Regions from separate parts of the Homo sapiens genome. Here all the other regions are linked to region 3. Evidence: promoter capture Hi-C in 16 types of primary human blood cells and fetal thymus (Javierre and others, 2016). All regions are on one chromosome and are shown on one strand. The core of a region is centred on a gene start or on the middle of the fragment in contact, and the rest is flanking DNA. Distances in the headings are between cores, read along the strand shown. Region 1 overlaps ARHGAP6 (Rho GTPase activating protein 6). Region 2 overlaps ARHGAP6 (Rho GTPase activating protein 6). Region 3 holds the start of MSL3 (MSL complex subunit 3). Region 4 overlaps HCCS-DT (HCCS divergent transcript). Region 5 has its middle 15 kb from the start of HCCS.

Evidence for each region. The method cuts DNA at HindIII sites, captures the fragments that hold promoters and counts their contacts. A CHiCAGO score of 5 or more calls a contact.
Region 1: a fragment that was not itself captured here is called in contact with the fragment with the promoter of MSL3 in region 3 in 10 of 17 cell types (neutrophils, total B cells, M2 macrophages and 7 more); the score reaches 16.8 in neutrophils.
Region 2: a fragment that was not itself captured here is called in contact with the fragment with the promoter of MSL3 in region 3 in 1 of 17 cell types (M0 macrophages); the score reaches 5.6 in M0 macrophages.
Region 4: a fragment that was not itself captured here is called in contact with the fragment with the promoter of MSL3 in region 3 in 2 of 17 cell types (neutrophils and M2 macrophages); the score reaches 6.8 in neutrophils.
Region 5: a contact is called between a fragment that was not itself captured here and the fragment with the promoter of MSL3 in region 3, in 6 of 17 cell types (monocytes, M0 macrophages, M2 macrophages and 3 more). The highest score is 9.6, in monocytes.

What each region holds. Positions count from the first base shown.
Region 1 is chrX:11,144,531-11,149,898 of GRCh38, reverse strand. All of the region lies in intron 10 of ARHGAP6 (Rho GTPase activating protein 6), which reads left to right. Among named protein-coding and RNA genes, the nearest start is that of HCCS, 36 kb to the right of the region's middle. The HindIII fragment of the contact is 5,339 bases long and covers 492-5,368 here.
Region 2 is chrX:11,164,422-11,169,722 of GRCh38, reverse strand. It overlaps ARHGAP6 (Rho GTPase activating protein 6), which reads left to right. Exons shown (of 13, transcript NM_013427.3): 9 at 39-218. Among named protein-coding and RNA genes, the nearest start is that of HCCS, 56 kb to the right of the region's middle. The HindIII fragment of the contact is 2,593 bases long and covers 630-3,222 here.
Region 3 is chrX:11,754,271-11,759,486 of GRCh38, reverse strand. MSL3 (MSL complex subunit 3) reads right to left here and starts at 1,250. Exons shown (of 13, transcript NM_078629.4): 1 at 1,122-1,250. The coding sequence starts at 1,223. MSL3-DT (MSL3 divergent transcript) reads left to right here and starts at 1,404. Exons shown (of 2, transcript XR_007068393.1): 1 at 1,404-2,735; 2 at 3,967-5,216. RefSeq lists an enhancer at 803-1,097 and silencers at 951-1,330, 1,341-1,490, 1,511-1,710. The HindIII fragment of the contact is 7,532 bases long and covers 1-3,699 here.
Region 4 is chrX:11,099,831-11,105,086 of GRCh38, reverse strand. The region is part of intron 2 of HCCS-DT (HCCS divergent transcript); the gene reads left to right. Among named protein-coding and RNA genes, the nearest start is that of HCCS-DT, 8.7 kb to the left of the region's middle. RefSeq lists an enhancer at 1,784-1,983. The HindIII fragment of the contact is 227 bases long and covers 3,416-3,642 here.
Region 5 is chrX:11,123,815-11,128,929 of GRCh38, reverse strand. No RefSeq gene overlaps it. Among named protein-coding and RNA genes, the nearest start is that of HCCS, 15 kb to the right of the region's middle. The HindIII fragment of the contact is 4,762 bases long and covers 1-4,042 here.

The DNA.
Region 1 (5,368 bases), core at 1,912-4,411, 610 kb after region 3:
TTGAAGATCTGTACTAGTCTGAAAAAAAATAAAATTTCAGTACTGAAAAATAATTGTATTGTTTAGCTAGATGTTCATCTTATTGAATGACAAATCTGCCTTCTTCATTCTGGGGGAGCATTAGGCTTTCTTCTAATTTAAAGGTATCACATTTAACTTACCAAATATCACATAGATCATTTCTTTTAATCTTTCAAAGCTCATCATTAAAAATATCTTTTTTCACAAACATGGAGTGTTATGTGACAGATTATAATTTCTGTTTTTCTTTTACTAGGATTTTTCATATCAGAAAGGGTTTCAGGAAATTTTCAGACAAGAAATCTAACTTTACCAGTACAATGTAACAGCAAAGAGTCCTATTGAGTGGCGGTAGCTGTTGGCCTCAATACCCTGGAAATTATGAAGCATTAACTGCCCCTGCCCCCCTCCCCCAACACACATACTCCATTCAAGAAAGTCTTTCCAGCCAGATAGTTTTAGAAAAAGCTTATGTGGAATAGAGAATTCCATAATGAAAAATTCTAAAATGTGTGCATATATGCCTTCTATGGAAAGGCATTCAAGATGGAGGGAGAATGTATCACATTACCCCTTCCTTCCTCACACCTTCACTATGATTCACAGCTTCTTTATAAATTTGCAGAATGTTAATTTGAAGATGTTTTTATCAGGCCCTCTGTAAATAATGAAAACAACACTGTCTGATCTTCACCTGTCATAAGTGCTCCATTTGCCAGAGACATTAGGAGGGAATTAATAAGGACTAAAAATGAGGGGAAAAATTTCACCAAAGGCTTATGCCCAGGGTGTTAGCTTCATCATCCAGTGGAGAGTTTAGAGCCATGTCAGTTCCTCTTTGAAGTGGGGTACCTTTATCCCTAGCAATCTGTCAAAGGGAGGCTTTGTAGAACTGATGGTGATTAATGTGCACATTCTTCATGATTCCAAAGCTGCTCCAGCAGTGGATTCCTTTCCCAGTACCATTGATATAATCCAAGATGGATGATACAATGCTTTCAGTTCCAACAGACTGGAACTTATCAGTCATATGATTAAGCCAAGGATGAAGCCAACACACATTTGAAACCTCCACAGTTCTTCTTGCTGGGGTAGCTCAGCAAGGTGCTGGGCGGGCCCCATCCGGTGATTGAACCGGAGTTTTCCATTTGTCCCCAGAACAAGTTCTGTGCTTCCGGCTGCAGTGCAGGCCTGCCCACAGTACCCTGCCAGCATGTTTACGCCCTGACCTGGAGGGACCAGCTAAGGGTGAGAATGTGACTCGCTCTCCATGCCCATCCCTTGCTTGTCTGGTTAGCTGAGATTGGCCATGCATGCTGTATGTAGATGGTCCTGGGGTTTGGGGGTCTAACGGGGAAACCCTCCATGCATGGAGGCAAACCCATGTAGACTGGTGACCTGTCCACCCAACCTCAATCCATGATGCTCTGAGACTGGAAAGAGAAGCCACCAGGCACTTTTGGATGCCAACTTATGTCAACTGGCAACTCATTCACCCAACATTCTGAACCTCAATCCATCAAACTCCAAGACATACAAAGAGATGTCACTATGTGCTTTTAGACTATTCCTCATCTAGTGAATCACTGATCAGAGTAAAAATTTCATGTAAATAGATACATGAGTATTTTAATGCCTTTATTTGGGACCCTGAACTCAAAACTATCTTCTTAGGGTTGGATTATCCTAGAGTCAAATCTGAGAGAAAACATTGTGGTTGCTTATCTCATTTTTCGGACATATCCAAAAGATGGTATGGTTTTCTAGATTTGACACTGAGTGTCCTGTGGAAAATCACTAAAACCTCCCCTCCTGGGCCCATTTCTCCACCAGTGTTCAGAAATTAGAGTGCTGCCAATTGGAACTGGTTTGTAGGAAGGTAATGCCCACTCAAGAAGCTCCCAGAGCTGACTCACAATGATGGGTTTTAGCCACCATCAGGCACCCTGGTCCTGGCAGACAACCACTTCTCTGACAGTTGTAGCCTGAAAGGTAGTTTTTCTTTCTTTTCTCACTTTTATCTCTAGGTTTCAGGGTCAGAGAAATTTCCTTTCCTATAAACTTTTACCATCCACATTTCCACTACACTACACCCGGATTTATTCACACCCTGTCTTCTTGCAGAATTTCTGGATTATAAGAATTTGTTTTTTGATTTGTGATTTTTATATGGAAAATCTTACAGAACTTTATAGATTTTACCTGATTTATAAATTTGACAAGCTGCTTTTACAATAGCTTCCATAAACTTAGAAATGTTTCAGAAACTGGGATAGAATAGAAAGATTTAGAAGTGGAAAATGGAAAATGGACAGACACAGGAAGCACAGGTGTGTAATGAAGGTATCCACAATGACTGGATGCCCAGCCCCCATTACAGGAGAGACATGCTCTGAAAGGCCCTCACAATTCTGCTTCCAAGTCTCTGGAAATTTCTCCGGACTCCAGCCTCCATTCAGCAATCCTACTCTCTCTCTGTTCTGTGTCTTTACTTCCAATTGTATCACCTAAGTGGGTGTATGTGTATATGCATGTGTATATAGTTGCATTTATGTGTATATGTAATATGTGTCTGTGTATATGTGTACATGTCTATGTCATATTTGTGTGTGTGTATATGTGTTTATGAATATGTATATGTGTGCATATGTTGATGCATGTATATGTATGTGTTCATATGTTGATGCATGTATATGTATGTGTTTATGTCTGAATATGTATATGTATGTGCGTGTGTGTTGGGTATGTATGTATATGTGAGTATGTGTATATATGTTGATCCTGGATTTGCTTCTGACAGATATAAAACAATAGAATGACACTATTTTTTTAAAAAATCTATGAACTGCCTATGTTGTTATGAGAGTTCTGAGGAGTGAATAAAACAGCTTTTTTTTTTAATCGGTGTGCTTTCATGTGAGAAGATAATTCTTGGACATAGGTTCTTAGGCAAATTTGGCTGCCACTTCCTGACCTCTGCTAAGACAATAAAATGATAGGGAAATATTTTAAACATTTTAAAAGGCTATTAACTCTAAGTAAGAAAGAGCATTTTACTACTGATTTGTAATAATGTTGAACACTATCTACCAAATAAATTCTAGAAGAATCCCAACCCTAACTGCCTCTGCTGCTAGAGAGCATGGTATTCAGCATTCAGTCAGCTCCTTGTTTCTTTCACTCAATCCCAGACTCAGGTCAGGAAAAAGGAGAGTTGTTAACAGTAGCTTAGTACAGTGCCTGCCACATAATTAACTCTGTATAAATATTAACTTTTACTCTCCTCACAGGCCAAGGGGATATTTCACATAAGTATATTTCCCAAACTGCTTGCCATGTGTACTCACACTGTATCTCCTCCCATGGCTGGGATACACTGGGGGGTGGGGAAACTGTGAAAAGAAGACATCGTCTCTCATTGGATGCCCCCTCTGTCTATGTCCCTGGCTGTGACCCCAGCCATCCCAAGGAGGTTCAGAGCCTGTGTCTACTATGAGACACCTCATCTACCTCTACCTCCAGGGATTCGCTTCAGCCACCCCCACTGTTTCCTCCCTGATGGAGGGCCCAGCTGTGGTCACTTTGCCGGCTTGACTTAGGAGACTGAACCAGAAGAGCAGAGAACACTACACTGGTACTTCCTACCCCCCTTTCACTTCAAAATGTTCTGATCCACAATGGGACTACACTACATTCAGTTGTCTGGATCCTGCTTAAGGCAGACAGAGGAGGTCCAGGAATCGGCTGGGATGGGGACACCCTTCCTCCTTCTCCTAACTGTGGCCTCAGTCACCCCAAGGTCAGGACCACCACATTCACTCCCAGGGCAGCCAATGCTGCAGTTTTGGCTACCATCTTTGGTTTCCCTCCTGATTTGGCTCTTAGCAGACCTTTAGCCCACTGTCACATCTACAGATTGAGAGAGGAAAATAAGGTTTGGTTATTAGAGGTTCCCAAACATCCCCGTGCATCAGAATCACCTGGAGGGATTCTTTAAAAAATTTGCTGGCCCCACCCTGAGTTTCCCTTTTAATAGGCAGAGCTGACTTTCAGGGCTGTGACTCCACACTCAGAAGAAGCCCACATTTGGTTTACTGATTTGCAGTGGCCATCTTGAAATGCTTAACGCTTTTTAAACACGGGGCATCACATGTTCATTTTGCACTGGGCTCCACAAATGGTGTAGCCAGTCCTGTCAGTAGGTCCAGAATGGAGCTGTAGAATTGGCATTGCCAACAAGTTCCCAGGTGAGACAGATGCAGCCACCCTGGGATGCACTTCACAACCACTCAATGAGATCTTGCAGACCTGGAAAATCATCCTCATAGCAGTCCTCTGGCTCCTTCCCATAAGATTACGTGATGAGAGTTCAAAGAGGAGGCAAGGAAGGGGCTTCTTTATTCCATGTTGGTAGGAAATGTCCTCAGCAAAAGGGTTCAGGCCCGTGTTTGCCTCAGTTACGGCTGTGGCAGTATCACAGAAGCTGGGATGTTTTTCCCGGCGATATTAACCCCTGCTGGAAACCTCAGAGGAAGCTAGATCCCTGTGAATGCACTTCCTCCAGTTTGCATGCACAAAACCATTTGGTTAGGAAAGTGTTGTTCAGGCATGTGTTTACCTTCTTTAAGAAATAAAAAGGATTTGTTTTGAAAAATTAAGCCAAAAGAGAGCAAAGACTAGTAAAGAGAAGTGAAGTAAGGGGGAAAAGATGTAGGTTCTGGAACTTTTAATCAATCTGTGATTGTTTCCCTTCAAGATGTTGTCAGGGCCAGTTTTGAGGAGGGTAGAAAAGAAAGATGTTTCCAGGTAAGACTTCCCATGCTCTTTTCACGTTGCTCAAGTTCTCATTTTTCTGTTCCACATACATTTTCACTGTTATTTCTGTTTCTGTGACAACTCATGAACACAGAACTATGATAATGGTATACTAATTAGTACATCATATCAGTTTGTAAAAGCACTAGTGCCTTGTAGAATCATTTTAGATGTATTTGAATAAAATGGAGTCTAGTGAGGGTCATATATTTATTGTTTTTGTCACTACTTTATACATGAAACACTTATTCCCACCGGTGGCATCAACATCTTTATCACATGAAGGATGGATTTATTTACACTAAGTACAGTAAGTATTTTGGTGGGATGGAAAAGTTGTCCAGAAAGCCATAATGAACTTCAAGCAAAGTGTCAACCATAGTTTTATCTGAATTATTTTTAATGCAGGATATTGAGGAAAGTGAAAGAGTTATCTACTAGTGTATCCTTACCTAATAGATAGTGAGCATCAGACTTTCACTTAAAAATGGAAGCAGGAATGAGTCCCTGAGGCACTTAGCGATGCCCATTG
Region 2 (5,301 bases), core at 677-3,176, 590 kb after region 3:
AAACATAACAACAGTCCTTGTGTTCTGTTCTCTTATAGGTCACTGGGAATAAAATGACATCTCTAAACTTAGCCACCATATTTGGACCCAACCTGCTGCACAAGCAGAAGTCATCAGACAAAGAATTCTCAGTTCAGAGTTCAGCCCGGGCTGAGGAGAGCACGGCCATCATCGCTGTTGTGCAAAAGATGATTGAAAATTATGAAGCCCTGTTCATGGTAGGTGGCCCTTCTGTGGCAGGACATCACAGCAAACTGCCTATTGGTTTCCTCTGGAGGCAGGATGAAATTCTAGTAGACCACCCTCTGGGGTGCAGTGCTGCTCACTGAATTCATTGGAAGTCAGGCAGTTTCAGCAGGAGTAGAAATTTGCACAACTATGATGTCATTTTGAGTTTGTGACTCCATGTTTAAACAAACATGCCAAATTATAATTTTCATTTTGTTGTCCTCTAAACCATGGTCACATTTTGGAGTCACTTAATTATAAAGCAGTGTCCTTGCTCAAGACATTAATAAAACCCTTCTTTATGGAATTGTGTCCCTCATGAATTCATGTATTCATAAGCATCCTCAGTGGTTTCACCTCCTCCAAGGTCAATCTTGACATTTTACCTCCTACATGAAGCTTCACCTCTCCTTCCTTTGTCCTTCCCATGCCACTTCTCTGTCCCCTGAACTCCATTACTGTTCTTACTGATGTTTATCTTGCCCAACATTGTGTATAGTAATTTATGACCATTTCCCCTAGTAGAGTATAAATGCATTTAAAACAAGGACTGCACCATTGTTATCTCCTCTCCATATCCTCTGTACACTTTTGGAAAGCCCTCCATCTGGCAGGCACTCAATAAATATTTTTTTGATTTGTATTGAATTACCAGTTCCTGTTTTCCTTCATCAAACTGCATTGCTTGCTACAACTTCCCTTGAAACATTAAAACAAATGCCAACTCTCTTCTATTTCTGTTCACCACTAATATTGCATGTCAAAATTTACAGGAACCTTCTTCATGTTTTTTCTCCCATTTCTCTTGTCAATTTGCAAACGCTATAAAGCCTGCCTATTCCACTAGAGCCTTTTGTGGCTCCTTCCTTCAACCGAGAATTCTAGTTACCTCTTTTAAATTTCTTTAGTAGTTTGTCTACACTTATCAAGTGCTTTGCATTAGATTTATGTCCATGCTTGTCTTATACTAATTACTTTTTGTAAATTTGAGACCCAGCAGTTTAGAGTATTTGCCCTCTGTGTCTTACCTATGTGATTGTGACCAAGTAATTCAATACTCATTATGCATCAATTCTAGCTTTAGAAATGGGAAAAACAAAATGATGATGTAATTCTCAGGGTGGTGACCAGAATCATTTGATACGTGAAAGTATTGTGCAAACTGTAGCAGTTTATGCAACTGTTAATTAGTAATTATATTAGTTGGGTAACACGTGCTGCCTCAAAAGTCAGTACTTTAACACAAACATAAATATCACTCTGACATAAAGTTTAATCAGGTGTTAAGTGGACAGCCTTCCAGGTGGTGATTTAGGAATCCCAGCTCCTTGTATTTTGAGGCTCTGACATTTTTTAGAGTTTTACGGGCAACCCCAGAAAGGTCATCCATCTTGTCCACTCAAATCTCATTGGCCAGAACTTATGCACAAGCCACACTTAACTTCAAGCGAGGCTTGAAAATGTATCCTGGTTGGATCCCCAGGAGGAAGAGCAAATGAAAAGTTCACTGAGGTAGAATGGCATCTTGTTCCTGTTTGTGTCTCTGAAGCACTGTCCCTGGGTTGCACATGCTAAGCTCTCAAAAAATGTTGAATTAATAATTGACTCTATATAAAATTTACACATCAGCCTAAATCCTCATAATTAACTACATATTTGGATGAATCAAATGTCTGAACTTTTCAACATTTTCATCAAGTTTAAGTCACATATCATCTTGCCAAGTAGTCTTGGCATTACTTCATGTTCTCTGGATTTTTTTAACAAAATAATACTTCTCATCAAACTTAATTCTATTATCTAAGCAAAGTTCTCCTTTATATGAAACCACATATCATCGAGCATTTCTTTTCAACTCAGATACCAACAAAAGTTTTCCTGGCTTCTTTGAAAATATAGCTGCTGCCATTTTAATTGTGCCATCCCTCTTCTTTCCATTTCCTGCCACCTGAATTACTAAGAACAGTATAAAAACATCAGTATTCTACCTTTTCCAGCTTTTCCCAAATCTGATCTTTGTTTGCCATTCTCTGTAGGGATTGATGTCGGCATTCTCTCATATTTTTGGTCTCCAGTTATAGTCTTTACTTCTCATAGAGGCCTTTCCTGGCCACCTTGTCTAAAATGCACCTCCACCCTCCATCACACACACACACACATCATCACTCCCTATTTCCTTTCCCTGCTTTTTCCCCTTAGCACTCACCACTGTTAACATTGGGTCTTACAAATTTCTCGTTTATGTTCGCCACTCCCTAGAAATGTAAACTACATGACAGGATGATTTTTTTGGTCCATTTCTATCTATAGTACTTTCTTTACTGCATTACCCCTGTGCCTGGGACATGGTAGGAACACAATAAATATTGGTTGAATTAATGAATGACTCAATGGTTGTTCTGTGACATATGATTTCCATATTACCAAGCCTTACTCCTTATACGTATGAAAAGATTTGGGCATGGAGAAATTAAGGATACCTTTCTTGGAGTAAGTTAACCATTAATGTAATCATTCTTGACCTCTTTAGAAGGATTCTGGTAATCATATATTCAGAAAAATAACAGTGGAGTGGGAGGAAGAGGGAGACAAATATCTCAAGTCTTGGTCTATGAAAAGAAACTGACTCTGGAACCAGAAAATTTACTATCGTCCTGTCCCTGTTATATATTGGCTACATGACCTCATCTTCTTCTATTTCTTTAGTTATCAAATACTAGATTTGAATGAATGATAGCCAAGACCCCTTCTAGTTGTAAAATCTGCATGGTGCTATGCCCTAGCACTGACTTCCCTTCCTTCCTTTTTATAAAGCACAGGAGAAAATTAATCTCATCACATTTTAGATTATCTTGGCATATTTGGCAGTTGAGAAACTAGTCGGCTATACCAAGGCTGGTGGTTTGTCAGCAAAGCTGATCTGCATGGGTGGACAAAAATGTAATCTTGTATGTCGCTATGTTGTTTTGTTTTGTTTGGCTTTTTAAAGAAGCTTTCAGAATTATTATAATTCCAAACAAAGAAGGATGAAGCTAGTCAGGGCCTGATGGTTAAAAGTAGTTAGTAATTGTGCAGTTTCACAGTCCTTGGGTTTAAGAGCTCGGAAAGGGAGGTGTCACTTCTATTAGCATTAGAAAGGAAGACTTGTTAGGAAAGGTAGCTGTGAGCTTGTCCTGGAAGGCAGAACAGACCTGGAGGCAGTGATTCCATAAAATAACTGGTGGAAGGGATGTAGAAGCTCACAGAGGCCTGGCAGGGACCCAAAATTTGTTCTGGGTGTTCTAACATCCTTCATTTCCTGATGCTGAGACTGCCTCTCCCAAGTGGCCACTCTCTGAGTTAATGGGAAAGGGCGGAAAAGAACCTGGCTTCGTCCTGTAATACAGAAGAGGAACCTAGATGCAGAGGTTGACACACAATTTAAGAGTCTGGCTAGGACAGTCTTTTGCATTGGTTGTTTGCTTTTCAGGTACTGGTTTGGAAATCCTTGAGCTGGAAATAGATCATAATAGCAGATATCATGACCACAGATATCAAAATACGAAGGCAGTAGATTATAATGGTGGTTCTCAAACTTGAGTGTGCAGCAGAGTTGCAAGGAAACTTAGACATTCAGATTCCTAGGATGCACTCCCGAGAATCAGATTGAGTAGCACTGGGATGGGGCCCAGAAATAATCTGCACTTTCTAGTGAAGACCTCCACAGAGTTCTGGTAGTTTCCTAACCACACCTTTGGAAACCATATCTTGGGAAACACTGGTATGGTAGAAAGACCATGTGCATTGGAATGAGCTACCAAAATTCAAATCCCTGCTCAGCCACTTATTTGCTATGTAATCTTGGGCCCCACAGTTAACTTCCCTAGCCAAAAGATGAAACAATGTGACCTAATTTACAGGACTGTTATAAGAATTAGAAATGACATTTTAAGGCACCTAGAACAGAATTAACATATATTAGGCATTAAAGGAAGATTTCTGCTATTATTACATTAAAGGGATAAGGTGCCTGCTCTATCAAAGCGTGTTTGGGTGTTTTCTTGGAAATCAAGCCCACTCTGCCCACTGTGTATAATGCTGTGACCTGATCCCACACATATATACTCCTAGGCCCTTACTCTGCTCTTTTTATTCCATAGCATTTATTACCTTTTAACCCACTATATAATTTACTTATTTTTATGCTTATTGAAACCTAACAGAATACAAACCTTATAAAGGCAGAGATTTTTGTTTGTTCTGTTCACTGACATTCATACCACCTAGAAAGTATATGGCAAAAGATGGGTGCTCAGTAATTATTTGTTGAATAAATATTGCAATTCTGTATTACTAGAAAAAAAATGTATTTTTGTTTCGATTTTGTCCAGTGTCCATACTGCTTATATTCCCTTACCTTTAAATCATGACCCTCCACTTCTGATATCAACACCTGTTGAAAAACTGGCTAACATAAAATGATACTCTGTGGGAGCACTGGAAATCAAGGATAAGAATCATTAATATCTACACAAAGTCATTGGTATTATCCTAACCAGAAAGTTCTCACTGACTAAGTCATTGATACATGAATTGTTCTGAAAGTTGTTACTTCTGTAACTAATATTGGGAATTCCAGAGAAAACTCATCATTGCTCTTGGGATTAGTAAGAACTTCAGAGCAGAATGGAGAAAACTGTCAGCTTCTTCTAAGGGCTGATATTAAACGATTCTTACTAGGACTTCTTCTTAGGAGAGGGGCAAGAAAGAGAAGACACCACCCTTGTAAGCTGATGAAAAGTCCGGAGTGCAGTGGAGACGTGGGAAAGCCAGTGTGTTCCCACCCCACTGAGTTGTCAGCCTGAACTGGGGACCAGCTTAGTGCACGTGGGAAATTTCAAATGAGCACTACTGGGAGCAAGGGTCAGAGGCTGTGATGAGGATTCCGAGTCAGAAGCCAAGCTTTGCTTTGTGTTCTCTTCATTCCCTGATGAAAATCGCATTTTCTTAAAGCCACTTTGCACACCAAGTCAAAGAGTCAAGCATTCATCCAGGTCATCAAGCAAGAAACCACCCCTCCCAGTATATCCACAT
Region 3 (5,216 bases), core at 1-2,500:
AGAGCTCTGGGAGTTGTAGTCTCCTGGGCTCCCCTATGTCCAGTGCCAGGATGGCTAGCTGGAGACTCTGGAATCCCTCCCTGTTGTGTCCCTAGAGGGAACAACTAAAACTAATGATGGGGCGTGCCCCCCCCCCTCCGCCCCGAGGAGGCTGGAGGGCGAGGAGAAAGAGGGATAGCAGACGCGGTTAAAAGACAGGAGCAGCAGGGGAGGGAACTGAAGGCAGAATATGCTCATCCCTTTAGGGATGTCCTTTAGCATCTCTAATGGACAGAGCTGTCCAGACATCGCCAAAGACACACCTGGGACTGCCCCTGTCCCTGCCGCCTAAGGCTTCGCCCAGGTGGCCCTAGGAACCCAGGTCTCTGAAATGAAAGCACCTGGGTGCTTTCCTTGGGGATCTGGGAGACCTGGTGCCAACTCCTGCCCGCCACCCAAATCTGAGGAGCTGCAAGATGTGGCTCAGCTCCCGGAGACTTAGGTGGACCGGCCCGGGGCGCGATTCCCATCAACTATGGTCAGACCCACGTAAATCCTTCAGAGTTTGAAAACGTAAATGCTGCAAGGCCCTGGGGTACGAAAACACTGGGCCAACCTTGCCCTCGGGATGGGGTTCACGGCCTACAGGCGGGATGGGGCCTAAACTGGACTAGGGTCCCAGGGACACAACGTCGCAAGTCAGCGGCCAGCGCCGTGTAACTATGAATTAGAACCTGGATCGGACGGCCAGGGCGTCCCACAGGAGCCCACCCGGCACCAGGCCGCACAGAAGGAGACATTTAACGCGAAGACAGAAACCGTATTCGAGAAGCCTCCTCCCTCAGCGGCCACCGTTGCAGTCGGGGGCGCAAACGGTAGCCCCGGTAACGCGACAAAGCATGGGCGAGGCTCCCAACCGCGCGTGCGCCGCCCGGCCTGACGGAAGGAAGTGGAAGCATCCCAGACCCCGCCCCGACTCCCGGGCGTAGCGCCCTGTGAGCGCCCCCTGCCGGCCGCACCGCTCCTCGCAGGCCGAGGAGCCCGGCCGGTCCCTCAGCTCCGCGCGGCCGTCCGCCCCCGCCCCCGCCCCCGGTCCCGGGTCCCCCAGCCCGCGCCTCCTCCCTGTCCCTCCGCGGCGGCACCTTGGCATCGTACAGCACTCGCGCCTTGGTGGGGTCAGGCTCGAAGCACAGCACTTTCTCCCCTGAGTGGAATTTAAATTTCATGCCCTCGCTCGCGCTCATTTGCTCATCGTGGCGGAGGGCGAGGCTCCGGGGCGGGCGGAGCGCGCGCGGTGGGGGAGGGCGGGCGGGGGCGGGGAGGCGGTGCGCCGTGGCCGGGGGGGGCCGGGAATGGCGGAGGCTGCGGCCGCCCCGCCCTCGGCCCCTCCTCCGCCCGCCCCGAGCCGCTGCCGGGACCTCGGAGGCGCCTGGCGCGCGCGCTCCCGCCCGGGCGCGTCCCCGCACGTCCCCGCCGGGGCTCCGGGAGGGGTGCGGGCGGGGAGCGCGACCCCCTGGCCAAGGTCTACCGGCAGGACGTCTCCCGTCGCCCCCATGGGAGAGGGTCCCCGCGGCCTCCAGGCTGCGCCCACGTGCGCGCAGGGTCGTCCGTCGCCCCGAGCGCCCGCTCTCCGGCCCGGGCGTGGGAGGCGCCTAGGGAGAGAGAGAGCCGGTCTGGAGTAGGCACCCGGCGGCCGGGAGGCTGGACGGCGTCTGCCCCCAAGAGCTCCCTGGCCGTGCGCGCCGCGTCAGCCCCCTTGGCAGAGCAGCGCGCCGATGAGTGTGGCCACGCTTGGAGAACGCAGCGCTGGAGCTGGCCCCAGGCGGGCAGTGGCCTCGGGCGAGGGCAGAAGGGCACTCCGGGCTGTGAATAGAACACTTGCTTATCCCTTCAGAGGACAAGCCGGTGGCAGGCCTGGAGCCCCCAGTGACGGGTTGAGCAGTGGGCAGCGAGGCAGATGGGTCCTTAAAGAGTAGCTGACGTCTTCAGTGTCAGCTTCTAGCGTGGCCTGACAGCCCCCAGCATCCCCGGAATGCCCCCCACGGTCTATCTGCTCCAATAGACTAAAAATTCCCTAAATAGAAGCACCCTTGAGGCCGCTATCAATATGGTACCTGCACAGAGTGGATGTTAAGTAAATACTTGATGAGCGAATGACAAGTGATGGGAGACTTGAAGGACAAACTTCCAGGGACAGGAAGGACAGTGCTGGGCTTTTTCTTTTGAGTTTTGGAAAGCCGTTGGGCAGTGTAATTACTGGATTAGGACCGGGCTGGAGACCAGCTTCCAGGCTAATCTCTGCGGACCTGGTGAACTTCCCCTTCTCTGTTCTAGCCTCCAGAAAGTTGCATTTGCTTCCCCTCTGCACGCTTCCTTCACCAGGTTCCTGGTATACATCCTTCACATTTCAGCGTGGGCATGCCAACAGAAAAGCCCTCAGGCTTCCCAAGATGAATCATAAAGCCCTGAGGTGTTCCCTCCCAGGACTCTGCTTAACCCCTTTCTTGCATGTACCACTGTGCTATAGAATGGGTTGTTCATTTGCAAAATGACCTCATTAAGACAGTAAGCTCTTTGAAGCTGGGGGTAGGGGTCTTATCCAATTCATCACGGCGTATTCGTGGCACATAATATGGAATGAATGAACAGATTGATTTAGGAAATAGAACCCACAAAACTCAGTGGCCAATTGGATGTGAAGGAGAGGGAAGGAGGAATCTTGAGAGACTTCCAGGTTTTCTGGCCCAAGGAATTGGGTGAGTAATAGCTGCATCCGCCAGAATAAGGCTATACAGAGGAGTTAAAGGTTGGGGGAAGATGGTCAAATGGCCTTTGGGGTAATACGGTGCAGAAACTAGAACTGGAACCATGATTCCTCTCCAGGTTGTGGTGTATCAGAGATGAGAACAGTAGATGGTGGTGTTCCCCACAAATGGCAGGGGCGGCTTGGAAGCACATGTAATTGCACGTCCTGTGTAAACCGTAACTGAAGTATTCACCTTTTTATTTTTCCTGCCCATGATTGGAGAGAGTTCTGCTGCAGGCTCTACCCTTTCAGGGATAGGATTTTAGATGCTTTCCTTTGTTTCTCCGCATTTCCACCCCTTCTTATGTCATTGAGGAATTCCTCTTTCCCCGTCCCTCTAAAAAGTCCAAGAATGCAAAAGCCTTCAGGAACCTAAAAGTTAAAAAGCCTGCCAATGGCAGCACCCCTTACAGTCCTCCTCCAGATTAGGATCCACTAGAGAGGGCTCCACCCTTAATGCAGGACATCATTTTTCCTCTCGGGTGTAAAGGTTAAGAACATGGCCAGCTCTGCAAACCACTCTCCAGGACCCAGTCCCATGCTTGTCACTTTCTAGCTTGTGACCATGGACAACTGGTTAGTCTCTTTGTAATGCACTTTGTTCATGTTTAAAATGAAGGAAATAGTGGCTCCTACTTCATAGGGTTTTTTAGGAGTCAATGAGTCAATTCAGTGTACATGGCTTTGTGTAGTGCCTGACATATAAGGGCTGGGTAAATATTTGCTCTTGACATTAGGCATTTCTTATCTGTTTCTCCGTGTCCCCCATTCATTCATTCATTCATTCAGCAAATATTTATTGGACCTCCTGTGTGCTGGTTGCTAGACACACAAAGTAGAATACATACATTACCCCTGTCCTCCCAGAGGGCACATTTCAGGAGGGCGGAGCAGCAAGCAATCAAGTTCAAGCTTTATGTGCATACCCTGATAAAGCTGGTGTGGAATAGAGGAGACAGAAGAGCTTACTTCTCTCTAGGAGGAGGGAGAGTATCTGAAAAAGCTCCAGAGAGGAAGGCACTCTTGAATTGCAACTTAGGTGTTTTCCTCATTTTCCAGTTTTTGAGGTTTGGACAGTAGTTTCGTCTGTATTCGGGCATGATTATAGAATGGTCTTGTTTTTGTCGGGATTAAGATAACCATTAAATCTTATAACAAATCTTTTTGATTTCTCATTATAGGTCACCTACAGGAATTGCTTCTCTTAGCAAGGTGAGTGCAGTGCGGGATCCAGTTAGTTGCGTCGCCCGCCGCCCCGCTGGCAGAGGCCCAATTTTGTTCAGGTGTTTGCCATCCCACATTGTTAGAGCAGACCTCTCACCAGGGCTGGAGTGACACTTGATCGGGCTAATACGGTAGGACTCACCTCTGGGTATACATTTGGAACAGCTGGGGAACTTTGAAAACTTGTTAAAATACTGTTGCCAGGAGTTGGAATTTTGTTTCCAAAGTTCCCAGGCGATTCCATTGTGCAGGCGGGGCTGAGAACTACTGGTCTAAACCAATCCCGGCAATCCCCTTCCTCTTACAGTGACTGGTTTAAGTATGGTCATGTGATACACGCCTGGCCAATGAGAAATTCTCATAGCGAGTTAAAATGGGGAACTGTGAGTACTTCTGGAAAATATTTTCCACCTGCCTCCCCCCAAAAGAAATACATCTGGCATAAAGTCTCCTCTTCCTCACTGGGTGTTATCATCTGCATCAGAATGCGGCGTTGGAGAGGGTGTCAGTGCTGTAGCCACCTTGGCACCACGGAGCTGGCCATCGTCACTGAGGCTCTGAGGATGAGAGCCCAAGGCTAGCACTCGCTCACCTGGGTCACTGGGGAGCTGTTGAGCCCCTGACGCACTAAATTAACTAATCCTGATGCCTAACGCCAAACTTCTTGCTCTGTGACATAATAAACCTCCATGCAGCAAAAGCATCCTGATCACGCCCCTCCTGCAGTTGTAGAGTTAGGTTATTGGCATCTGGTATGTTGTCTATTGCTAATTTTGGTGATACTGATGAGACAGACCTCTGATGGTGAGAATGCATTTTTCCATGGACATGTAGACATAATTGATGTTGCATTTGAAATATTGTTTCACATGTATTCAGTATTCAGTAGGCTTTGGGAATGAAGGGTAAACCTAGTTACCATTTATGATACGGTTTCAACTAGAATGTCTCTTTTAGGTTAGAAACAAACTTTAAATGAATTTCTGGAACAACCCATTTATAAAGTTAAGAACAATCTATGATCTTACAACTTTGACCTTAGAACTGGATGACCTTACAATTGGATTTTTTTTTCTTCTTTTGGTCTTAGGTGATATGCAGACCTACATCCTAAGAATAATTTTGTGGTTAATGAATATTCTGATAAAAGTTATAGTGATCCTTTTACAAAAGTTGCAATGCTTCTTAATCCTTAATCCTTGTTGGT
Region 4 (5,256 bases), core at 2,280-4,779, 660 kb after region 3:
AATGAAATTTCCAGTGGGTATTGGATTTGCCCTCCAATTTTTAAAGCATAAACTGTAACCAAAGACCTTCTGACATATTATTCTTTTAAAAAGGAGGAGCATGGTAGATTACAGTTGTTTGAAATTACCACCTTACTGCATAAAGAGAAAGCTAAGGTGAAGTAAATAAGAAGACAGGAGTAAAAAAATGGCTGCTGATTTTGAGAAATATTTAGGGTTAGGGGCAAGATGAGTTCAGGTTAGACACATTGCACTTGAGATGATAATGGTTATCTAGGCAGTGAAATCCCAGAAGCGGTTCAGAACACAGAATTAGAACTCAGGAAAGAGCTGGTTGCAGATAAAGAAATGTAAATTATCAGGTTTGGTTGGATGTTAAGACATAAGAATGGATGGTAAAATCCTTCAAGGCTTTGGTTTTCTTTGCTCTCATTCCAAATTTACCAAAGAACTTTGCGACTTTAGTTTGGCTTTCCTATTAGGAAGAGAATGCATCACTAGCCAACCTAAATTTCTTCCTCCTTGGCAGTCTTATTTTTTTATTCTAAACATTGTGAATTAATGACTTGGAGAAAATAGGAGTAATGGAAGGAAAATCAATAAGGCAAGGCATGAGTAGCTTTAAAGGAAGGAAGGGAAGGCTCTTTGAGTGGTTTGGACTCATTGTAAAGTGGGATTGAAAGATTAAACCCGCAAAAGACAAGTTGACAAACCATCCTCTACCACCACCACATGAAATGCAGTTTTCCAAGAAATGTGCTTTGAGGGACCCCATTTTTAAAACACAAGTAGTAGCATACTTTATATAGGGATTTAACTGTTGTTCTTCACCTAAAATATCTTGGAGGTTTTCCATATCCATCTTTCTTTTTATTTAACAGATTCAAGAATTAAAATGTAAATTTTCATATCAGTACATACAGTGTTCCATTTTGTTTTTATTTAGGACATGTACACTATTCCATCATATAGATTAATACAGTTTATGTAACTGGTCCCTTACTAATCAACTAAATTGATGTTATATCCAATACTTTCCTATTACGACAATACTACAATGAGTAATATTGTGCTTACATCATTTCTCACACTGTGTGAGCATATCTTTGTAATACCTAGAATTAAAATGACTGGGTCAAAGGGAATGTGCTTTTAAAACTTTGATAGTCACTTCTAAATGACCCGAGATAGGTGGTTGTACCCCTTGTAGCTTCCCTCAGGAGTGGATGAGAGTGCCTGTTTTTCCACACCTTCATCAACACAGTGTATTGCTTTTTTTAAAAATTGATTTGTAGACATTCTTTATAAGGAAATTAACCTTTCTTCTACACTATGAGGTTGGAATATTTTCTAAAATTATCTTTTTTTGTTTTTGCTTCTGCTAAGTTTTGCTTTGAGTAGTTTTTATGGATCTTAATTTTATAATCTTCTATGATTTCTGGATGTTGTGGCATAATTAAAAATATTTTAAGTCCTAAATTCTCCCAAGTTTCTTCAATTAAAAAAATTACACTTTTTCCTTTAAACCATTTATATATTTGAAACTTATCCTGGTGAAAGGAATAAGGTATAGCTGTGCTATGGTATGAATATGACTTGTTTGTCCCCATCAAAGCTAATTTTGAAATTTGATCTGCAGTGTGGCAGTGCTGGGAGCTGGGGCCTAATGGAAGATGTCTGGGTCATGGGGTAAATCCTTCATGAATGACTTGGTGACTTTCTAATGGTAGTGGGTTCTCACTCTCACAAGACTGGATTAATTCTCGGGAATGGATTGGTTCCGGCAAGAGCAGGATTGTTACAAAGTGAGGATCCCCCTCATGTTTACTCTCTCTTCACATGTGCCTGGTTTGCCTTTGACTTTCTCTGCTGACTCAACATGAAAGCCCTCACCAGAAGCTGAGAAGATGCCGGTTCCATGCTTCTTGAACAGCCTATAGAACTCTAAGCCAAACAAACCTCTTTTCTTTATAAACTACCCAGCCTCAGGTATTTTGTTGTAGTAACACAAAATGGACTAAAGACAAGCTCCAATGACTACATCCATTTTATACTCTCCTATGTTTTGGATTCTCTTGTCTTTAGTCTTAATGTTTGTGTGTTTATTTTGGATTTTCCAGGGATTATTTCATATAATCTCAACTAATAATGATTTTACTTCCTCCCGTCCAACTTTAATGCCTCTAATTTCTTTTGTTTTTTTTTTTTTTTTTTTGAGACGAAGTCTCGCTCTTGTTGCCCAGGCTGGAGTGCAATGGCATGATCTCGGCTCGCTGCAACCTCCACCTCCCAAGTTCAAGTGATCCTCCTACCTCAGCCTCCCAAGTAGGTAGGATTACAGGCACCTGCCACCATGCCCGGCTAATTTTTGTATTTTTTTTTTTTTTTTCAGTAGAGATGGGGTTTCACCATGTTGGCCAGGCTGGTCTCAAACTCCTGACCTCAGGCGATCCGCCCACCTCGGCCTCTCAAAGTGCTGGGATTACAGGCGTGAGCCCCTGCGCCTGGCCTCATGCCTCTAATTTCTTTCTCCTGCATAGGCTAAGACTTTCCAGCAAAACGTTAAATAAAAGTGGCAGTAGACATTCCTAATTTTTGTGGAAAAGTGTCTAGTGTCTATCCATTAAGCATTTTGCGAACTTTTAGATTGGCATAAAGTTTTTTGTCATGTTTAAGAAGTATCCATATATCTCTATTTTGTTATGAGTGTTTTACAAAATCAGCAAGTAATTTAGTGAATGGGTTTTCATAGAAGATGATAAAGGGGCAGAGTTTCCCCTCTAGGTCAATGTAAACTGAGCCAGCACAAGCAGAGAGAGGAGTCCAGAGGCAGAAGTGACCATAGGAGCCTAAGTCCCTGAGGAGTAACATATAACTCAGGGAAACTTGATATTCCATGGACCATGGACTGGGAGATTCAAGTGAATAAGACCTTGGGGTCCAGGAGATGGGGAGGCCAGGCCTAACTGACAGAGGCTTATACTTTAAGGGTGAATTTATTAAACAAATATTATACAAAATACAATGAGCTGATAATAAAACATTCTTTGTTCTTAAATTTATATATGTGTGCTTGTGTGTACTAATACTGAGGCCCTTAAACCACTAAGATTTAGGATTCTTAAACAAAACAGATTAGGTAAAGTTTGCCTTCCAAAGCCAAGGGGAGAGGGGTGGCCAGGGAAGGAGAATGTTCTGGCTGGAAAGGAGACAAATTCTGAGTAAAGGAAGCTGAAGGACAAACACTTCTACTCAGGATTTAGCATTGGCAGGACTGTTTGGTGTGTAGGAATTTAGAACTGGGTCAGTATTATTTAAAGGACTACAAACCTGGTTTTAAATTTAAAAGGGGTGTGGGGGTGGAGCATGGCAGGTGGTGAACCAAAGGAATTTACTATGATCTGAAAAATAAGCTTAAGTACTAACTCCACTGTGGGCAGGGAGGCAAGAACCTTCCCTTTTTTGAGTTGAAGATAAGCCTCTTCAGTCTAAACTTTCCTAAATTCCACTTCTTCTTTTTCTATAAAACAAGGTGAAGTACTTTATGCTAGCTATCAAAAATCATTGACTGTATGTTGCATGAATTTATGAATTTATTATGCTAGAAAAGTGTTTCTTGGCTACTTCATATGTATATAAGCTTTCTCCCTCAACACAGTTTCTGCTTTTTATTTTTGGAATCTCACATAGCCTATATCTTGTTTTCAGAGTAGATACTATCACTGTGGGTGGCTGAGTTCTCATCTATATGCAACCAAGGCTAACTGGCTCTCTAGGTTACCTTGATGCCACCCACTGAGAGTCCTTTCTGGATTTAGTGATTTAGTGCTGCTTATTTTCACCTTCTCTCAGGATGGAGCCTCAGAATAGAGACCAGGTTGAAAATCAGTCTTTTACTTAGAACCATGAAAGCAGATACTACATCTTATCCGTCTATGACCTGGTGACCCAGAAGCCATTAATTTGACATTACCAACATACCTCCACACAAAGACTTTATAATCTTCAGTGTGAGAATTAAACAAACAAACAAACAAAAACTTAAAACAACTTTGGAGGGGAGAACGATAACCTAAATTTTAAGCATAAGAAAATCCCTAACAAAAAGATCCAACTAATTGCCACTGGGGGGCGATGGAAGTTCGTGAACTGCTCTGCTAATCCCTGAGGCAACTGAGCACTTTAGTTGGTTTATTTATTCAAAGCTGGAATTTGGACGTGTGACCCATCAAGCTCAGGGAAATTCCTGGATGAGGAACACAGTCCTGGGAGAAACCTACCAAAGATGGAATTAGCACCTTGGCGAACCGCCTTCAGCGCAAAGAACTTTCTTTCCTTGTGTGTCTTAAGAATTTACTTCAGTTCCCTTCTGTCTGAAGCAGAGGAAGCCAAGTTAAACTGTGAATAAGCACGACAACAAAGAAGAGTTCTTATTTATCACTACCTGCAAACACATGTAAGTGCACAGTTTAAACAGCATTCAGACATCTCACAGCCACTAGGATCAGAGTTTTGGTGTGAGTAGGCCTCAGTTGGTAACTTTCCTGAGGAAAGGAGGGAGGTTATAGAATTTATGTTAGGAAATTCTGAGTCATAGATAACACTTTAAGTGACAGTTAAGGAATCTAGTGAGAGGGACTTTGGACAGGTTTAGAAAAGTACCCTATGGAAACAAAGGAGGAAAAAAAAAGTATCTTCACTGCAAGAGTAATATTGCAGCCACTTGGTGGCGTGTTGTGGGCTTTATTTCTCCTTCCAGATTCCCTCGGTGGTGTCTGGAACCACTGGTAGGATAGGGGTCCTGGCACCAGACTTTGGCCAGCCCAGTCATCAGGCAATATCAATGTTAGGGGTCCCGTTGCTACTTCTACTTGGTCTTTTTTCCCTTCCCAAGATTGCCAATAAAGTGTCATCAGCAGCCGGGTGTGGTGGCTCATGCCCGCAATCCCAGCACTTTGGGAGGCTGAGGTGGGCAGATCACCTGAGGTCAGGAGTTCAAGATCAGCCTGGGCAAAATGGTGAAATCCCATCTCTACTAAAAAAAAAAAAAAAAAAATTAGCCAGGCGTGGTGGCATGCACCTGTAATCCCAGCTACTCGGGAGGCTGAGGTAGGAGACTCGCTTGAACCCAGGAGGTGGAGGTTGCAGTGAGCTGAGATAGCACCTCTGTACTCCAGCCTGGGTGACAGAGCGAGACTCCATCTCAAAAAAAAAAGTGTCATCAGCACAAGAATTTGTCCTGCTTCCACTCCAGGA
Region 5 (5,115 bases), core at 412-2,911, 630 kb after region 3:
TGCAAGCTCCGCCTCCCGGGTTCACACCATTCTCCTGCCTCAGCCTCCCGTGTAGCTGGGACTACAGGCGCACGCCAACATGCCTGGCTAATTTTTGTATTTTTAGTAGAGACGGGGTTTCACCGTGTTAGCCAGGATGGTCTCGATCTCCTGACCTCGTGATCCGCCCGTCTCAGCCTCCCAAAGTGCTGGGATTACAGGCATGAGCCACCGCGCCCGGCTATTTCTTTTTCATTTTTAAAAACAGCTATAATTACAAACCACACAATTCACTCATTTAAAGTATACAGTTCAATGGTTTCTAGTATAGTCACAGAGTTGTGCAACCATCAATTTTAGAGCATTTTTTAATCACCCCCAAAAGAAACTCCCACGTCCATTAGCAGTCACTCCCCATTCCTCCTCCACCAGCCCTGACAACCACGAATCTGCTTTCTGCCCCTATAAATTTGCCTATTCTGAGGGTTTCAAATAAATGGAATCATACGAAAGTGGCCTTTTGTTTCTGGCCTCTTTGAGCACAATGTTTTTAGGGTTCATCCATATTGTAGCATTTATCAGTACTTCATTTATTTTTATGGGTGAATAATATTCCATTGCATGGATATACCAACATGTATTTATCCATTTACTAATTGGTGAATGTTTGAATTGTTTCCAAGCCAGCACATTTTATAGAGGGAAAGGAAAGCACTGGTTAACTTGGAATTCGCTTAAGTGTAGGTCTTTTAAGAGTGTGTCTACTGATGTAGTTTATATAAAAACTAGTTTGAAATAGGGTTTCAAACCACATTGTTTTCCCTTAACTTAAAGATTCTCAACCTGAAAGATGACATAATTCAGCCCATTGTAATATGAGGCCACAAACATTTTGGTATGAAAGGAGCCTTTAAGATAATTTCAGGAAATTGAGACTTACAGGCCTAAGGTGGCTTGTCCCAAATCTCCCAGCTTAACACAGGGAATCAGTGCAGAAACAAAGCTCTCAAATCTTGTTTTATGCCATTACGTTAGCTACCACCTCCAGATTTAAAACCCTGGCATAAGAAAAGGGCTCAGGCTGGGCTTGGTGGCCTAAGCCTATAATCTCAGCACTTTGGGAAGCTGAGGCAGGCAGATCACTTGAGTTCAGGAGTTCAAGACCAGCCTGGGCAACATGGTGAAATGCTGTCTCTACAAAAAATACAAAAATTAGCTGGGCGTGGTGGCATGTGCCTGTGGTCCCAGCTACTAAGTAGGCTGAGATGGGAAGATCACTTGAACCTGGGAGGTAGAGGCTGCAGTGAGTCAAGATCGCACCACTGCACTCCAGACTGGGCACTACAGTGAGGCTCTGTCTCAGAAAAAAATTTTTAAAAAGGTTCAGATGAAGGAAAAAGACCTTAATGAAATGATGTCTAAGAATGGGATTTTAAATCAGCAGTGAAGGAATCCTCTTGTGGTCACTACATGTCCTCCTGATGATTTGTCTGAGCTAATCTAAGCATGAAGCACGCACAGGAACATAAAATGGGAGGGGTGGTAGGACACAGGCCCAGTGCTGAATTGGCCCAATTAGACTGAAGAGAAACCTTATTTCCCATGGTTGTGGTAGATGGCCGGGTCCCACCCCACCTCATATCTACTGACCATAAACAAGGATCTCAAAGCAACTAGGAAGCATTGACGCTGATGAAAGGAACCAGCCCTACATGGATGAAGTTAAAATTGAACATGGAAGGAAAGGGAGTCCAGAGAAGCAGGATCAACCAAGTGTACACCCAACCTCTGCACTTCTGGCTGTGAGTTCAAGCAGGGATTCACTTACTAGAAGCCAAAAGCATCCTGATAATATTCTATAGCAAACCATTGAAGGGGCACGGGAATTAGTCACATTGTTATCCCAAATGTAGAAGGAATAGCAAAGTGTTTAAATGATGATTCTGCACAGAGCTCCAAAATAGTAACTTTCAAAATAGTAACTTTTCATTGTTCTTTAGGACTTCACTCGTCTATGATTGTGAAGACTTGTCTCACAATTCCTCTGTTACAACACTCAAGATGTATTATTTCTGTGCCCCTATCACATATGACCTTTGGTGTGTAAAAGCATCAATGAAAAGCTAATTATAAATACAAGATAGCACCCATATGTACATGCCTCATTCCCTAAACCAGTCTTAGGAACTATGTTTGCTCCTGCATCTGGTATGATTCCACAAAAACATTAGAATACTTGCAATGTGATGTATAAACCTCCGGTTGAATCATTTGCAGAAAGTGTTGTCAGCTTTTTCTTCCAAACTAGAGAGTGCACAAGCATGAAATAGACACTTTACCACTTACACCAATGGCATGAAATTTTACTGAAGGTACAGTGACAATCTCTACTGCAGCAGTAAATGTTTTTCTTTTTAAAGTTCAGAGGCACATGTGCACACTTGTTACATAGGTAAACTTGTGTCATGGGGGTTTGTTGTACAGATTATTTTGTCACCCAGGTATGAAGCCTAGTACCCATTAGCTGTTTTTCCTAAGCCACTCCCTCCTCCCACCCTCCACCCTCCAATAGGCCCCAGTGTGTGCTGTTCCCCTCTGTGTTCTTATCATTTAGCTCCCACTTATAAATGAAAACGTGATATTATTTGTCATGAGTGGCGCAAGGCATAATTCATATGCTTCATTTTGATATACTATATACCCCCCAAATTATATAATTTTTTAAATGTTACCTTAAGTTACAAGGAATATACATGGCTTTTGAAATAATTTTTGATCTTTTTCTTTGCAGTAAACAACCTTGTAATATGTTTTGAATCCGGATATGTAATATATTTTCACAGAGGGGGATAACCTTGTGACCCAAAGGACATTACAGTGAGCTATATTTTAGATTAAGAAGCACAAGAATCGCAGCACTTTGGGAGGCCGAGGTGGGTGGATCACTTGAGGTCAGAAGTTCAAGACCAGCCTGACCAACATGGTGAAACCCCATCTCTACTAAAAATACAAAAAAATTCGCTGAGTGTGGTGGTAGGCACCTGTAATCCCAGCTTCTCAGGAGGCTGAGGCACAAGAATCACTTGAACCCAGGAGGTAGAGGTTGCATTGAGCCGAGATCATGCCAGTGCACTCCAGCTTGGGTATCTGTCTTAATATAATATTTCTTTTTGTCAAGTGGGACTTGCATATCAAGTACCTAATTTGTTACCCTGATATTTTTTGAAAGATCAAAGGCTGTAACCTGTTCTTTTTCCATTTGATGATTTTAAATAACATGAGCTTTCTTAGAGCAAGCACCCAAACACCTGGTAATCCTTAAAATTGATCAAAATGGGGATTAGAGCCTGCTGTTACCCCTCTAAACTGATTCTCCTGGTGGCGGAGTGGGGCGGGGAATAAGGCCAGAGGATGAGAGAAGTAGATTATATCTCAGCACTTTGATTTCTCTCCTTGCTGTTGTTGATCAATGGTGATAGCTAATATTTGCTGAACATTTCCACCCACAGACTCTGTTCCCAGCGCTTTTAGGCATCACCTCAAAGTACCTGCAAAACAACTCTGATAAGTTGGTTCTATTACTCTCATTTCATAGCCGAGAAAGCTGAGGCCCAGAGACATTAAGATCACACAGCGACTAAAGGGCAGGGCAAGGACTCTGCCTCCAGGACACACATTTGTAATCATCACACACACAGCCTCAAGCCTATGGTGACACAAATGACGGGTCATACAATTCTGACAGTCACTGCAAAGGTGAGACAGGAAATGTGCATTGCTTCATTTTCCCTAAGAAGCAATCTCTGGGAGAAGATAAACCATAATGATGACTCAGTAAAGAAATTGGTAACTATCTCTAAATATTCAAAAATACTTACGTGAATTCTCACACTGTGTGTTACCACAATGTGTTCCTTAAATTGGAGTTCTAGCATTTACCACCATTTCATTTATAGACTGTCCATAAGATTGTTGAGTTCCCTGCAAGTAGGGGTATTAGTCTGTTCCCATGCTGCTAATAAGGACATGCCCAAGACTGGGTAATTTATAAAGGAAAGAAGCTTAATGGACTCACAGTTCCACATGGCTGGGGAGGCCTCACAATCATGGTGAAAGGCGAAGGAAGAGCAAAGGGATGTCTTACGTGGCAGCAGGCAAAAGAAGTTGTGCGGGGAACTCCCATTTAAAGAACCATCAGATCTCCTGAGACTTATTCACTACCAGGAGAACAGTATAGGGGAAACTGCCCCCATGATTTAATTATCTCCACCTTGCCCTGCCCTTGACACGTGGGGATTATTAAAATTCAAGGTGAGATTTGGGTGGGGCCACAGCCAAACCATATCAGGGTTATACCTTTTGCAATTTTGTATTCCTTATACGATGCACAAAGGGGACATAAACATTTTGTTAGCCAGTGACTGACAGGAATACTAAATGTTAATATGCAATCCATTTGTAGCCCCAGCTTGTCTGCCAATACTTAGCCTGATGTTCAGTAATTTGTTCTGATTCTGAATAGTGCTATTTCCACAGACACAAGACTTAGTTTAAAACTCCAGAGAATATCCTAAATGAGTTTCAAGCTGTACACGAAAACTCCTATCAGTATTGACCCCTGGACCCAATCAAGCATAATCTAGACACAAAGCAGCTCTGACAATCCAGGAAGCCATGGTTTTTTCTGGAAGTAGTAAAACGATGTATAAAACTTGATCTTGTCATCAAGTTTGCTTGAGTTTAAAGCTTGTTTACCACAGTCCTATAAAACAGGTGAATCCTGCCTTTGGCATATTTTTTGTTTCCAGTTAGTGTTTTGTCTTTCATAAGAATGTCTTATCCCACACTCATTCGATAGCACTTAAGACCCCCCCAAAAAATGCCAACAGTAATTATTTTCCTCTACAGTTTAAAAATATGTGATTAGGGCTGGGTGCGGTGGCTCACGCCTGTAATCCCAGCACTTTGGGAGGTCAAGGCGGGTGGATCATGAGGTCAGGCGTTCAAGACCAGCCTGACCAACATGGTGAAGCCCCGTCTCTACTAAAAATACAAAAATTAGCCAGGCGTGGTGGCATGCACCTGTAATCCCAGCTACTCGGGAGGCTGAGGCAGGAGAATCGCTTGAACTCGGGA